Regions from separate parts of the Homo sapiens genome. Here region 1 is linked to region 2. The links are contacts of gene promoters, found by promoter capture Hi-C in human tissues and cell types (Jung and others, 2019). All regions are on one chromosome and are shown on one strand. Each heading gives the region's core, a stretch centred on a gene start or on the middle of the fragment in contact. The rest is flanking DNA. Distances are from core to core; before and after follow the strand shown. Region 1 holds the start of TAOK1 (TAO kinase 1). Region 2 holds the start of RAB34 (RAB34, member RAS oncogene family).

Region 1 (5,852 bases), core at 2,240-4,739, 670 kb after region 2:
GTGACTTCTAGACATTCTTAGAACCTTAGACAATCCTGAAAACATTTGACATGTGTAAGACTCCAGAAATACCCATCGGCCAGGCACATAGTGCCAAAGTGACAGTAACCTCCAGAGAACTCTAGCATGTGTGTACACCTTTTCCTAGAGTTCTCTGTCACACTAACATTTGCAGCAGCTATTCTTCCATACACTCCAGGCAAACAGCTTTCATTCACTCACTCTTCTTGACATCTCCCACACCTAACCCAATTTCTGACACATAGGAGAAAATGTCTGCAGAATTATTGAACTGATAGCAAACATTTGTTGAATGTCATTATGTACATTATGCTAAGTTTGTGGACATAGATATAAATAAGACAAATATTCATATGCTTGTGAAGATCACAGCCTGGTGGGAAAGGCCAAAAAATAAACAGTTCTGTGTGAGGACTATTTGGTTGCAAACAAAAGAGAACCAGACCCAACGTTAGCTTAAGAAAAATGGGAATGTTTTAGCACACAAATGCTAAAAACTCCAGGGTCAGGACTGACTTCAGACAGAGTTAGTTCCAGGGCTTCAGTGATCTGGTTTTATCTCCAGAATGTGTTTCCCACTGAGTTGCCTTTGTTCTGGGGCTTCACAGCAAAAGGCAATAGCAATTCCAGTCCTTACATTCTCTCAAGGAAATAGAATGTAGTGGCTCTGAGAACTGCTTGAACCCGGGAGGTGGAGGTTGCAGTGAGCTGAGATCGTGACACTGCACTCCAGCCTGGGCAACAGAGCGAGACTCCGTCCCAAAAAAAAAAAAAAAAAAGAATATAGACCGAGCACAGTGGCTCAGCTTGTAATCCCATCACTTTGGGAGGCCAAGGCGGGTGAATCACGAGATCAGGGGTTCGAGACCAGCCTGGCCAATATGGTGAACCCCCCCCCGTCTCTACTAAAAATACAAAAATTAGCCGGGCGCAGTGACACGCGCCTGTAGTCCCAGCTATTCAGGAGGCTGAGGTAGAAGAATTGCTTGAACCCGGGAGGCAGAGATTGCAGTGAGCTGAGATCGCGCCATGGCACTCCAGCCTGGGCGACAGAGTGAGACTCTGTCTCAAAAAAAAGAAAAAAAGAAAAAAAAGAACACAGTGGTTCTGGATGAAAGCTGAGTTTGACAACTGGCTTCACCACAAACTGGCTATAAGAACTTTGACAAGTTAATCAAAATTCTTCTCTGTGCCTCAGTGCCACTCTTTCTTTCTTTCTCTCTCTCTCTCTTTCTTTCTTTTTGACAGAGTCTCGTTCTGTTGGCCAGGCTGGAGTGCAGTGGCACAATCTCCTCTCACTGCAACCTCTGTCTCCTGGGCTCAAGCAATTCTCTTGCCTCAGCCTCCTGAGTAGCTGGGATTACAGGCGTGTACCACCATGCCCGGCTAATTTTTTTCACGATGTTGGCCAGGCTGGTCTCGAACTCCTGACCTCAGGTAATCTGCCCACCTCAGCCTCCCAAAGTGCTGGGATTACAGGCATGAGCCACCGTGCCAGGCCCAGTTCCACCATTTCTAAAAGGGAATAATAATTATACCCACCCAATATGGTTATTGTGAGGAGTAAATAAGTAGAGTGTTTAGAACTCTCTCTGGCATATAATCAGCACTCAATACGTGTTAACTATTTCACTATTTTTGTTATCATCATCATCAAATTTCAGAAACTTTGTGCAGTGGCAGTATTGTAGCCAATGAGATTTATCCGAGGTGTGATTATTGCTCATTGAAAAATCATAGGCTGGGCACGGTGGCTCACATCTGTAATCTTAGTACTTTGGGAGGCCGAAGCAGGTGGATCCTTTGAGGCCAGGAGTTCAAGACCAGCCTGGGCAACATGGCGAAACCCATCTCTACAAAAAATACAAAACTTAGCCAGCACGGTGGCATATGCCTGTAGTTCCGGTTACTTGGGAGACTGAGGTAGCAGAATCATTTGATCCTGGGAGGCAGAGGTTGCAGTGAGCCAGGATCACACCACTGGATTCCATTTTGGGAGTTCAATATATATATTACATTTTTGGGAGAAAATAAGAAAGTTTCTTTCCCAAAAAGCCAGAGAAAATCTTATTGTACCCATTGGCTCTAATTGGATCATGTGCCCATCCCTGAGCCAGACTAGAGGAAGGTCATACATACACTGTATACACGGATTGCTTAGGTCTGATCAACATGCTCCTTCCTTGGAGCACAGATCTACTATGGCCAGCCTGGTCTCGAACTCCTGACCTCAGGTGATCCGCCCGTCTCAGCCTCCCAAAGTGCTATAATTACAGGCGTGAGCCACCGGGCCCGGCCCAGAGTTAATTTTTATTCATGAAACTCATATAACAGGTTTATTTATTTCAGTCGTTTTGTTGGTTAAAGAACCAAGATTTTTTATGACTACACTTTGTGTACACTTTTAGGTTCTCTCTTTTTTTTTTTTTTTTTTGAGACGAGTCTCATTCTGTCGCCCAGGCTGGAGTGCAGTGGCGCAATCTCGGCTCACTGCAACCTCCGCCTCCCGGGTTCACGCCATTCTCCTGCCTCAGCCTCCCGAGTAGCTAGCTGGGACTACAGGCGCCCACCACCACGCCCGGCTAATTTTTTTCTATCTTTTAATAGAGACGGGGTTTCACCGTGTTAGCCAGGATGCTCTCGATCTCCTGACCTCGTGATCCGCCCGCCTCGGCCTCCCAAAGTGCTGGGATTACAGGCGTGAGCCACCGCGCCCGGCCTTACACTTTTAGGTTCTTGAATAAGTACTGAGGGAGTTTTCCCTAAAAAAAAAAAAAAAAGTTTTGAGATAAAAGAATAAAAACTCTACTTCTTCTTTGCATAGGAGTCTTTAGTTTGTTTGCTGCTCTTGTTCCAAAACTTCTCATTACTCAACCTACTAAACCCACAGACACTTTTCAAGAAGTTATCTCTTTTCTACATCACCAATATATAGGGTGGCTTAGATCTGTATTTCCAAGTCTTACTGTCGTTCCAAGAATTAGTATCAACTATTAGAATCTCAAAAACTCAACTGCATACTGATTGCGCTGCCCAGTGTACCTCTGAATCCCACGGGGGAGGGGGTGTAGAACCGAGTTGTGCAGGAATGGGATATTCCACACTTCAGGGCAAACTTATTCGCAGGATCAGTGGCGGGCTTTGGAGGTGGGAAGCAGGAAGGAAGGGGAATGCAGATAAACTCTTCTTCTTCAGATCTCCGGGGTGAAATGAATGCACCTGACGCCCGCGTGGCATTAGAAGCTCCGCGAACTCAGTGAGGCCATGCTGGACAGAGGCTGGAACTCCGGGCCACCGGGACAACTCTGCCCGTAGCAAGCCTTGCGCGCTCCTGTGAGGGCGCGCGCGCGCGCATGTAGTCGTGTCTCGCGCAGGGTCCGGCCTGTCAGGCGGAAAATCTCGCGAGATCGGAGACGGGGGATGACGGTCTGGAGGAGGGGAGTGGTGTCGGGTAAAGGGGGGGAAGCTGGGCAGCGGCCGGGCTCTGTGGCTTCAGGGCTCGGGGAGAGAGAGGGAGGGTGGCAAAGAGACTGAGTCGGTGCCGCCGCCTGCCTGAGGAGAGAGGAGGGGTCCCGCTCGCCCTGCGCCCTTCGCGGGCCGAAAGCACTAGGCACTCGCGAACATCTGAGGCCTCCCGGCCCCGGGGGACCCCGCCCCGCCGTCCGCCGGCCGGCCCGCGGCCTCTCTTCCCTTTGTGAGCGCCTCCTTACCAGGGGTGGTGTTGGTGGCGGAGGGCTGCGCGTGGGCCCGCCCGCCGAGGGGCCGCGGCGGGGGACCGAGAGGGCCTCGGCTGTGTGAGGACTAGAGGCGGCCGAGGCCCGGGCCGGTTCCCCCGAGGCGGCGACGGAGACGGCTCCCGGCACTTCCCCGCGCCATCTTAACTGAGCCCAAGCGCTGAGGGCGCCTCCTCGACCCCGGTCGTCCCCTCGCCCCCCCCCCCACCCCCCGCCGCCGCCGCCCCTTGTTGCAGAGCTTGGGCTGGGCGGCTTGCTGGGGCTCGGGGGTGGGGGGCGGCGATCTGTCGCCGGGCCCCCTCCTCCTCCTCACTCCTCACCCTCCAGGGTAGCGGCTACCGGAGCGCTGCAGGGGGCTGCGCCTGCCTGCTCCGCCCCAGACCTGTCGGCGAAAGGGTAAGGGCACCTCTGCTTTGGGAAAGGGGGATATAGAGGGGGGCGGGGAAATTCGGCCCACTCGGGCCTGTGTGTGGAAGAAGGGATGTGGGAGTGGGGTGGGGGAGGGAGAAAAGGAGGGTCTGTGATTCTGTGGGTGGGGTGAAGAAGCTGGTGAGCTGGGCGCCCTCCGGTTTTAAGGGGCGAGAGCAATTCCATTCCTTTTTCCTGAGGGTCACCGGAAGGGGTGGTGGAAGGGGGATGTTTCGAGGAAGGTGTGGCCCTCACAGGGAGACTGGGTTGATGTGCACCCCGGTTTAAAGGCGCGAGGTCCCCTTCCCCTCTGGTGCCTTTGCTCCTCTTCTCCTTTGTAGTGTCTGTGTATTCTTGGGAAGGGAGACTGCTCTGGGTGGCTTGCTGGGTGGATTCCACCCCCTAGCACAGGAAATCTATACCCCTCTTCTGTAGGGGCGATGGAAGCGTTTCTCTCCCCGTACCCTTCCCCCTTCCCCATCCTCTAGTCTACTGCAATGCTGCAGAAGTCCAAGGCAGTTTCTTCATACACAGACCCATGTATACACAGAAGGGAGGGGGAGCAGGAGAGGGAAGTAATGGCGCTTCCCTTGAAAAGGTTACTCTTTTTCCTTTGGTTTTAAATCGACGACAGTATCGTTTTAATACTCTTCCCCTGAGATCTGTCCATGGGAAGTGTATCTGTTCTGGTGTTATTGTTGGGGGATATGGCCTCTCGAGAGGGACACCTCTCCTGTTAGAACAGTTTTGATGTCTCTCTTTTTGAGAGATGTCTGGATTGACATTTTTTGTGAGCAGGTTGGATTTTAGTTAGAATTCAAATAAAATAATTTTGTACCTCCTCATCCTCATTTCCCTTTTCTTTTTCTATGACTTTTGTAGTTCATGAAGAATTATTGGCCTGGCGCGGTGGCTCACGCCTGTAATCCCAGCACTTTGGGAGGCCAAGGCGGGCGGATCACGAAGTCAGGAGATCGAGACCATCCTGGCTAACACGGTGAAACCCCGTCTCTGCTAAAAATACAAAAAATTAGCTGGGCATGGTGGCACGCGCCTGTAGTCCCAGCTACTCGGGAGGCTGAGGGAGGAGAATCGCTTGAACCCGGGAGGCGGAGGTTGCAGTGAGGCGAGATGGTGCCACTGCACTCCAACCTGGGCGACAGAGCGAGACTCCGTTTCAAAAAAAAAAATTATTAACAATTATTACATACAGACAGCCTGTCTGATTCAGGGCATTTCTCCCTAAGCTGTGAATTTTTAGGGTTGATACTGTTGTGTATAATATTGAAATTGGATTTTTTTTAAAATGGTAAGGTTACAAACCTTTCTGCAGCTGTTTCTTTGTTCTTATTAATCTGCCTAATTATTCTATGATCTATTTTCTGTAGTCAGTCATTTTTCACTTCTTTTGCTACCTGTCATGTTTGTCTGAAAGCAGATCATCTTATCTGGTTTACAGTAGTACTTGTTGGTTTTGTTCTTAGTTGAGTAGAAATAAAAATTTAAACATTCTGGAAATGTGCTGCCAAGTGCTTTTTGTGACCAAAGAGTAGTTTTCAAGTCTCCATGTACTGATGATACATTTTTTTCAAGTGTTTAGTAAATACTGGTGATGTGATTTCAAAATATTCCACATATGACTATTAATAGAATTAATTTTTTCCCAAAGTGAAGAAGAAGACTAAAATG
Region 2 (5,555 bases), core at 2,240-4,739:
AGAACAGAGACACTCTCCCTCACTACCACTGGGCGCCCTGGACAGTCCCCTGAGGAGTAGGGGGCATCCAGTCTTTGGCACGGTGCCTGGGGGCAGGAAGTGACTAGCATGATCCCAGCTACCCCTCTGTGGGAATACTGCCACCAAGAGGCAGCTCTTTGGTCTGGATAAAGTCAGTGCAAATGTCCAGGGGTCAAGCTCTGGAGGAATGAGGGTGGCACAGTGCCCTAGGGCTGGGCAGTCTCTGAACAGTCTCCTCAGCCCTCATGGGCAACATGTGGGCTTCTTCTTGCTGGCAGTTAGGTAGAGGTTGCTGTCATCACTGTTGATGCCTAAAGAAGGGTGGAAAATATGTGAAGCAGGGATTGGAGGCTCACTGTGCCCTCTGCCACCCTCAACCAGGCAAGCACTCACGGACAACATCCCCAATGCGTCGAGCCCCCGATTTCTCCAGCTCAGCCAGCACATTGGCCTCAAAGGTCAGTGCTGCCACACGGAAGAAGAATTCTCGGACATTCTCACCTGACACAGAGAGCAGATAGGTGCTCAGGGGCAGTGCTGGGTCTGGGGACACAGGGCACAGCTGGAGGTGTAGCAGTGAGAGGAGAGCCAGGCAAGAGTGTCACAGCAGAGCCCTAAAGCCTCCAACTCACCAGTGAGAGATGAGACTGCCCAGTACTCAGCCTTCATCTCCTGGGCCACCTGGAGGGCGTCTTTCTCCATCAGCGCATACTGAGCAGGGGTCTGAGGGAAGGCCAGAGTCAGAGGGGGGCATTCCCTCACCAAGCTGGGAAGTCCCCCCACTGGCACACTCACACTCAGATCCTTCTTGGAACCTACAAGGAAGAGAAGCACACTGGAAGGGTCATTCTCCTTCAGGGCATCGGCCAGCCACTGCCTGCCATGGGAGGTGGAAAGTAAGGGATGAGTGAGTCTGCAGGGCCCCTCCCACTGACATTCATAGGCCCAATTACCCCCTCTCTGGTCCTACATGCATTCTTCTTCTTCCTGACCACCCCTCTGTTCTGAACCCTCTCTTCCCGGAGCCTCCCATTATATTGCAGGATGCTCACTTACTTGGTATGTTCCAGAGATGCCACATCATTCAGGTTGAAGACAATGATGATGGCTGGAAGAGTGGCAGAAACAGCCCCAGGTTGACAGGGAAGACACTACTGCTCATTTCCCCAATCCTTCCAGCTCCATATGAGAAGCCATGTGCACTCTGAGACCCACCTACCCCACTTCACCCAGCCCCTTACCTTGAGCTCCTCTATAGTAGGTTGATGCAATGCATTTGAACCTCTCCTGCCCAGCGGTATCCCAACTGGAAGGAAGGAAGAGTGAAGCACAGGTATGTATCTTGGGGGGTGTGGGTGCTGGGGAGAAGGGATAGCTGGAAGGGGTGTGGAAGCACTCACAGCTGCAAACTGAAGGGAATGCCCAGCACCTCAAATCGTTCCATCTCGAAGTCCACTCCAATGGTGGCCTTGTAATTCTTATCAAAGGTGTCTTTGCAGAACCTGAGAGGGTACCAGATGCTGTGATCTGGAGCCAGCCCACCTGGCTAGGCTTGGCCCCACCCTGCCCAGCTCAGCTCCAGCACCCCCTTACCTATTAATGAGGCAAGTCTTCCCCACCGACAGGTCCCCCACCACAATGACCTTGGAGATCTTAAATCTGCTGGACACAAGAGTGGGCAAGGGGAGTGGGCACGAGCTCTTTCACCCTAGGGAGTTCCAATGCTCCCGACTAGGTCCAGAAAGGTAGCTGCACCCAGGCTGAGGGTATTATAGACACCAGGCATCCCAGGCAGCTGCGTGGACAGGTGTGCTGGGGAGGAGGAGTGTTTTGTGCTCCAGAAGCAGAGAGACATGAATTTGAATCCCAGCTCTCACACTGATTAGCTGTGTGACTTTGGACACGTTATTTAGCCTCTCTAAGCCTCAGTTTAAACATTTAAGTAAAGTTAGTATATATTTTACTGGGTCGTTGTGAAGGTTAAAATGAGATAAATGTCCTATATTCTAAGACACCCTCCCCCCCGCATTTTAATGTCTGAAATCAGGATATATCTTAAGTGATGGACTTTTCCATTCAATAAAGATGATAGTACCCAACACTGCCTGGCACACAGCAAATGCTTAATTAATGGTGCCAACTGTTATCAGTATTACCTTTAAAACCCACAATAAGACTCATCCCTGTAAGCACAGCCAGACCCCTGCCCTGGGGCTCCATGGATGCTATGTGGGGATCTGAGCAGGTGACCACCTTCCCATTTCAGACACCTTAGTCTCTACTCAGAAATCCAGCTGCCACCCTTCTACCCAACCCCATCTCATAGAACTCACAACAACCTTGTTGGGAGAAAAGGAGGGGATACAGGGGCTTAAAGAGGGGGAAATAACCATATAGCTGGTAGGGGCTGAAATGAAGCCCCAAGGGGGTGGTTGTTTACCCTCGCTATGACTACAGAGTTTCCTGGGACCTCCTCTCTTTGTTGTGGGTGTCCCTAACTCACCCCACGGTGCCTGTCCGGTGCTCCTGGCAGGCGCAGGTGACGCGGGGGTGGAAGTCTTTGTGCCCGTGCAAAGCGGCCTCCTTCCTCAGGCACTTAGTGGGAAGGATGGAAGAGAATGGAGCTTCCTACTCCTGGCCCTTGTCCCGCAGCCAAGCGGCCCGGGTAGGGGTGGAGTGCAGGGACCACCCAGAAGCACCAGGCCTAGCTGGGTGGCAGGGCTGGGCCCAGTCCTCTAACTGGTCTGGTGCCGCCTCCTCCTCGCCCACACCCCGGGCTGTAGACTGAAGCCCGACGTGGCCCCGGCGCCTACCTGGGGCAGCTCCGCCAGGACGCGATCCCTCCGCACGGGTGCCAGAATGTTCATCCTGCCTGCGGCCTTGCAGGGCGCCCTGAGAAGGCGCCGAGGCCGGATCCGCGTCAGCGACCCGGGCGCGTGGAGACCCGACGATCACCCGCGGCCGGGGTGTCCCGACTACAACTCGGGGCCACGGGGACCCTACGGGAGTCCGCGGTCTCGGAGACGCTACGACCACCGCGGGCCACGGAGATGAAACAATCACCCGGGGCCGCGGCGAGCCCAAAATCACCCGGGCCCTGGGCGTCCCGAAGATGACTCTGGGGCGAGGAGACTCTTCGGCCGCCAATTGGGGGCGGGGAGTCCCGTCTGGTGGGGGCCGGGCCCGCGCAGACCCTACGATTACGCGGGGCCGGATAGTTCCTACGATTACGCGGGGCCGGATGGTTCCTACAATAACCCGGGGCCGCGGAGACCCGACGTCATCTCGGGGCTGAGGCTGCCCTACCATTACAGAGCGGCCCGGGGGCGCGGAGCGGCCCCGCCACACGGGGTCAGTGTGGGCAGGGGCGGCGCTGCCAAGGCCCGCAGGCCGCTGGAGGAGGGGGCGAGGGGCCCAGTCCGGCTACAGGGCCTCGAGTCCCACTCCGCTCGGGCTCCGCCAACGCTGTAACACGATCCCCGGAAATTCCTGGAGAAGGGCCGCCCCCCGCCCCTCTCCTGGCGGCTCCAGGCCTCGCTGCCCGCCCTCGCCACCCCCTCCTCTCCACCCTTCTGCGTTGCCCCGCTCAGGCTCCCTCTTTTGACGCTTCACCGGGCACCAGGACCGCCCCGACCCAGGCTGGAGCCTATCCAGATAGGGACTCCCCAGGCTGCTCTCCCCTGCACCTCTATACCCGGCTGCGCCTTCATGGGGACCCTTACCCAGCCGAATTGGTGATGGGGAATCGGAGACTGCTGCGCAGCATCTGGCGATGCCAGGAACCAGCAGGGAGGGGAAAGGGGGAGAGAAGGGGCCCAAGGAGAGGCGGCGCTTCCCTCCTCAACTCCAGGCCTGGGAGGTGACTCATAGAGTCTGCCCCCTCTCGCCCTTCTGCCCTGGGAGGTCGGGGGTGAGGATGGTGGAGGGGAAGCGTGCGAAGGGGGTGCCAGGGTTAGAATGAGGTGCCCACCGAGGAGAGAGACGTCTGAAGTCTGGCGTCTTTTCCTTCAAGGCTGCTGTGTAGATTGTGAGGTGGGAGGGCTGAAGATCAAGTTCCCTCGAGGGAGGTTAAAGAAGGGCTAAGTGGACCCGGAAACTCTGCTCTTCGGGGTGGTCTCCGCTCTGGGAGGCGGGGACTCCCCTCTGGTATGGGTGTTCATTGTTCTGGCCCCATTGGAATCTATCCCCCAGGGACAACTCCTTTGTGCAAAGTCCTGCAGGATAGAAGAGGGGGCAGTGCACAATCAATTTCACCGTCAAAGGGGACATGTCTGGTTTTATGAAGGGAGAGGGAAGAAGAAAGGATCAAGTGGGGATGGGTTAGGCACACACCTTAGGAGAAGCGAACCTGAGTGTTAAGAAACCTTTCTCTGTGTCTGGAGCTGAATTTGAGGATGTAAAGATGACCAGGACACGGAAGGGAAGACTAGTTTAGGGCAGGGGATTGTGAGTGAAGTTACTAACCGGAAAAACTAGCGAATCTTGGAGAAATGTGTGGAATTTTCATAGAACTTCAAATGCATTATCAGGAAACGCAGTAAAACTTGACAGTATCAGTGTCGCAGGTAAAGAGGGGCAGGTGTGGCCGCCTTGTACTTCCTCTGACACTTCCCCCTCGTGACTCGATTATTTATTTATTTATTTATTTATTTATTTTGAGACAGGGTCTCACTCTGCCACCCAGGCTGGAATGGCTCATTGCAGCCTCGACCTCCAGGGCTGAAGCGATCCTCCCACCTCAGCCTCCCAAGGAACTGGGACTACAGGCACGCACCACCACGCCCGGCTAATTTTTGTATTCTTTTGTAGAGACAGGGTTTCGCCGTGTTGCCCAGGGTGGTCTCGAACTCCTGGGCTCGAAGCAATTCGTCCACCTCGGCCTCACAAAGTGCTGGGATTACAGGCGTGAGTCACCGCGCCCGGCCCTGACTTGATTTTTTTCTGCCACCAAATCACTGTGTTATTGATAAACCACATTCCTCTCTGGACCTCAGTTCGACCGAGCAAATCCTGCTCCAGCACTCTAGAACTTAGCTGTATCTAACTCCCGAGTCAATCCAAATGTGTTCTTTCCTCTTGGCAGCGTTCCTGCCTCCTGGCATGGCAATCCTCTTCCCTGAGACTGGCAGTTGCTCAAGATAGGAAGCTCCCGGGACCAGACCCGAGCGCCAGCCGGCTACGCCGTCCGCTGGCCTGAGCAAATAAACGCGTGTCTTCAAAAAACTACAATCCCCATGGTGGCACGCGCCTGTAGTCCCAGCTACTCTGGTGGCTGAGGCAGGAGAATGGCGTAAACCCGGGAGGCGGAGCTTACAGTGAGCCGAGATCGCGCCACTGCACTCCAGCCTGGGCGACAGAGCGCTCAAAAAAAAAACAAAAAACAAAAAACAAAAAACTACAACCCCCATGAAGCTTTAGTGCCTTTGAGGGGAGGAGTGGCGCATGTTTGTTCACGCACGAAAAAGAAATTAAACCTAACTACCGTTCCCAGAGGGCGCCGCTCTGCAAATTACCCAATCAGCTCTAAGTACAAA

The links. The method cuts DNA at HindIII sites, captures the fragments that hold promoters and counts their contacts. A contact is called where the count stands out against the background at its distance.
Region 1: the fragment with the promoter of TAOK1 here is called in contact with the fragment with the promoter of RAB34 in region 2 in 1 of the 25 tissues and cell types used here (hippocampus).

The regions. Positions count from the first base shown.
Region 1 is chr17:29,386,874-29,392,725 of GRCh38, forward strand. It overlaps TAOK1 (TAO kinase 1), which reads left to right and starts at 3,490. Exons shown (of 20, transcript NM_020791.4): 1 at 3,490-4,151. MIR4523 (microRNA 4523) reads left to right here and starts at 3,789; the gene lies at 3,789-3,857. It also overlaps the pseudogene RNU4-34P. RefSeq lists enhancers at 3,046-3,285, 3,406-3,495, 4,656-4,895 and a silencer at 3,536-4,005. The HindIII fragment of the contact is 18,861 bases long and covers 1-5,852 here.
Region 2 is chr17:28,714,379-28,719,933 of GRCh38, forward strand. RAB34 (RAB34, member RAS oncogene family) reads right to left here and starts at 3,490. Exons shown (of 10, transcript NM_031934.6): 1 at 2,835-3,490; 2 at 2,525-2,616; 3 at 1,615-1,680; 4 at 1,422-1,523; 5 at 1,263-1,327; 6 at 1,078-1,129; 7 at 817-898; 8 at 654-744; 9 at 415-522; 10 at 1-332. The coding sequence starts at 2,888. The coding sequence ends at 265. RefSeq lists a silencer at 3,323-3,582 and enhancers at 4,263-4,863, 4,864-5,465, 5,122-5,171. The HindIII fragment of the contact is 4,543 bases long and covers 1,783-5,555 here.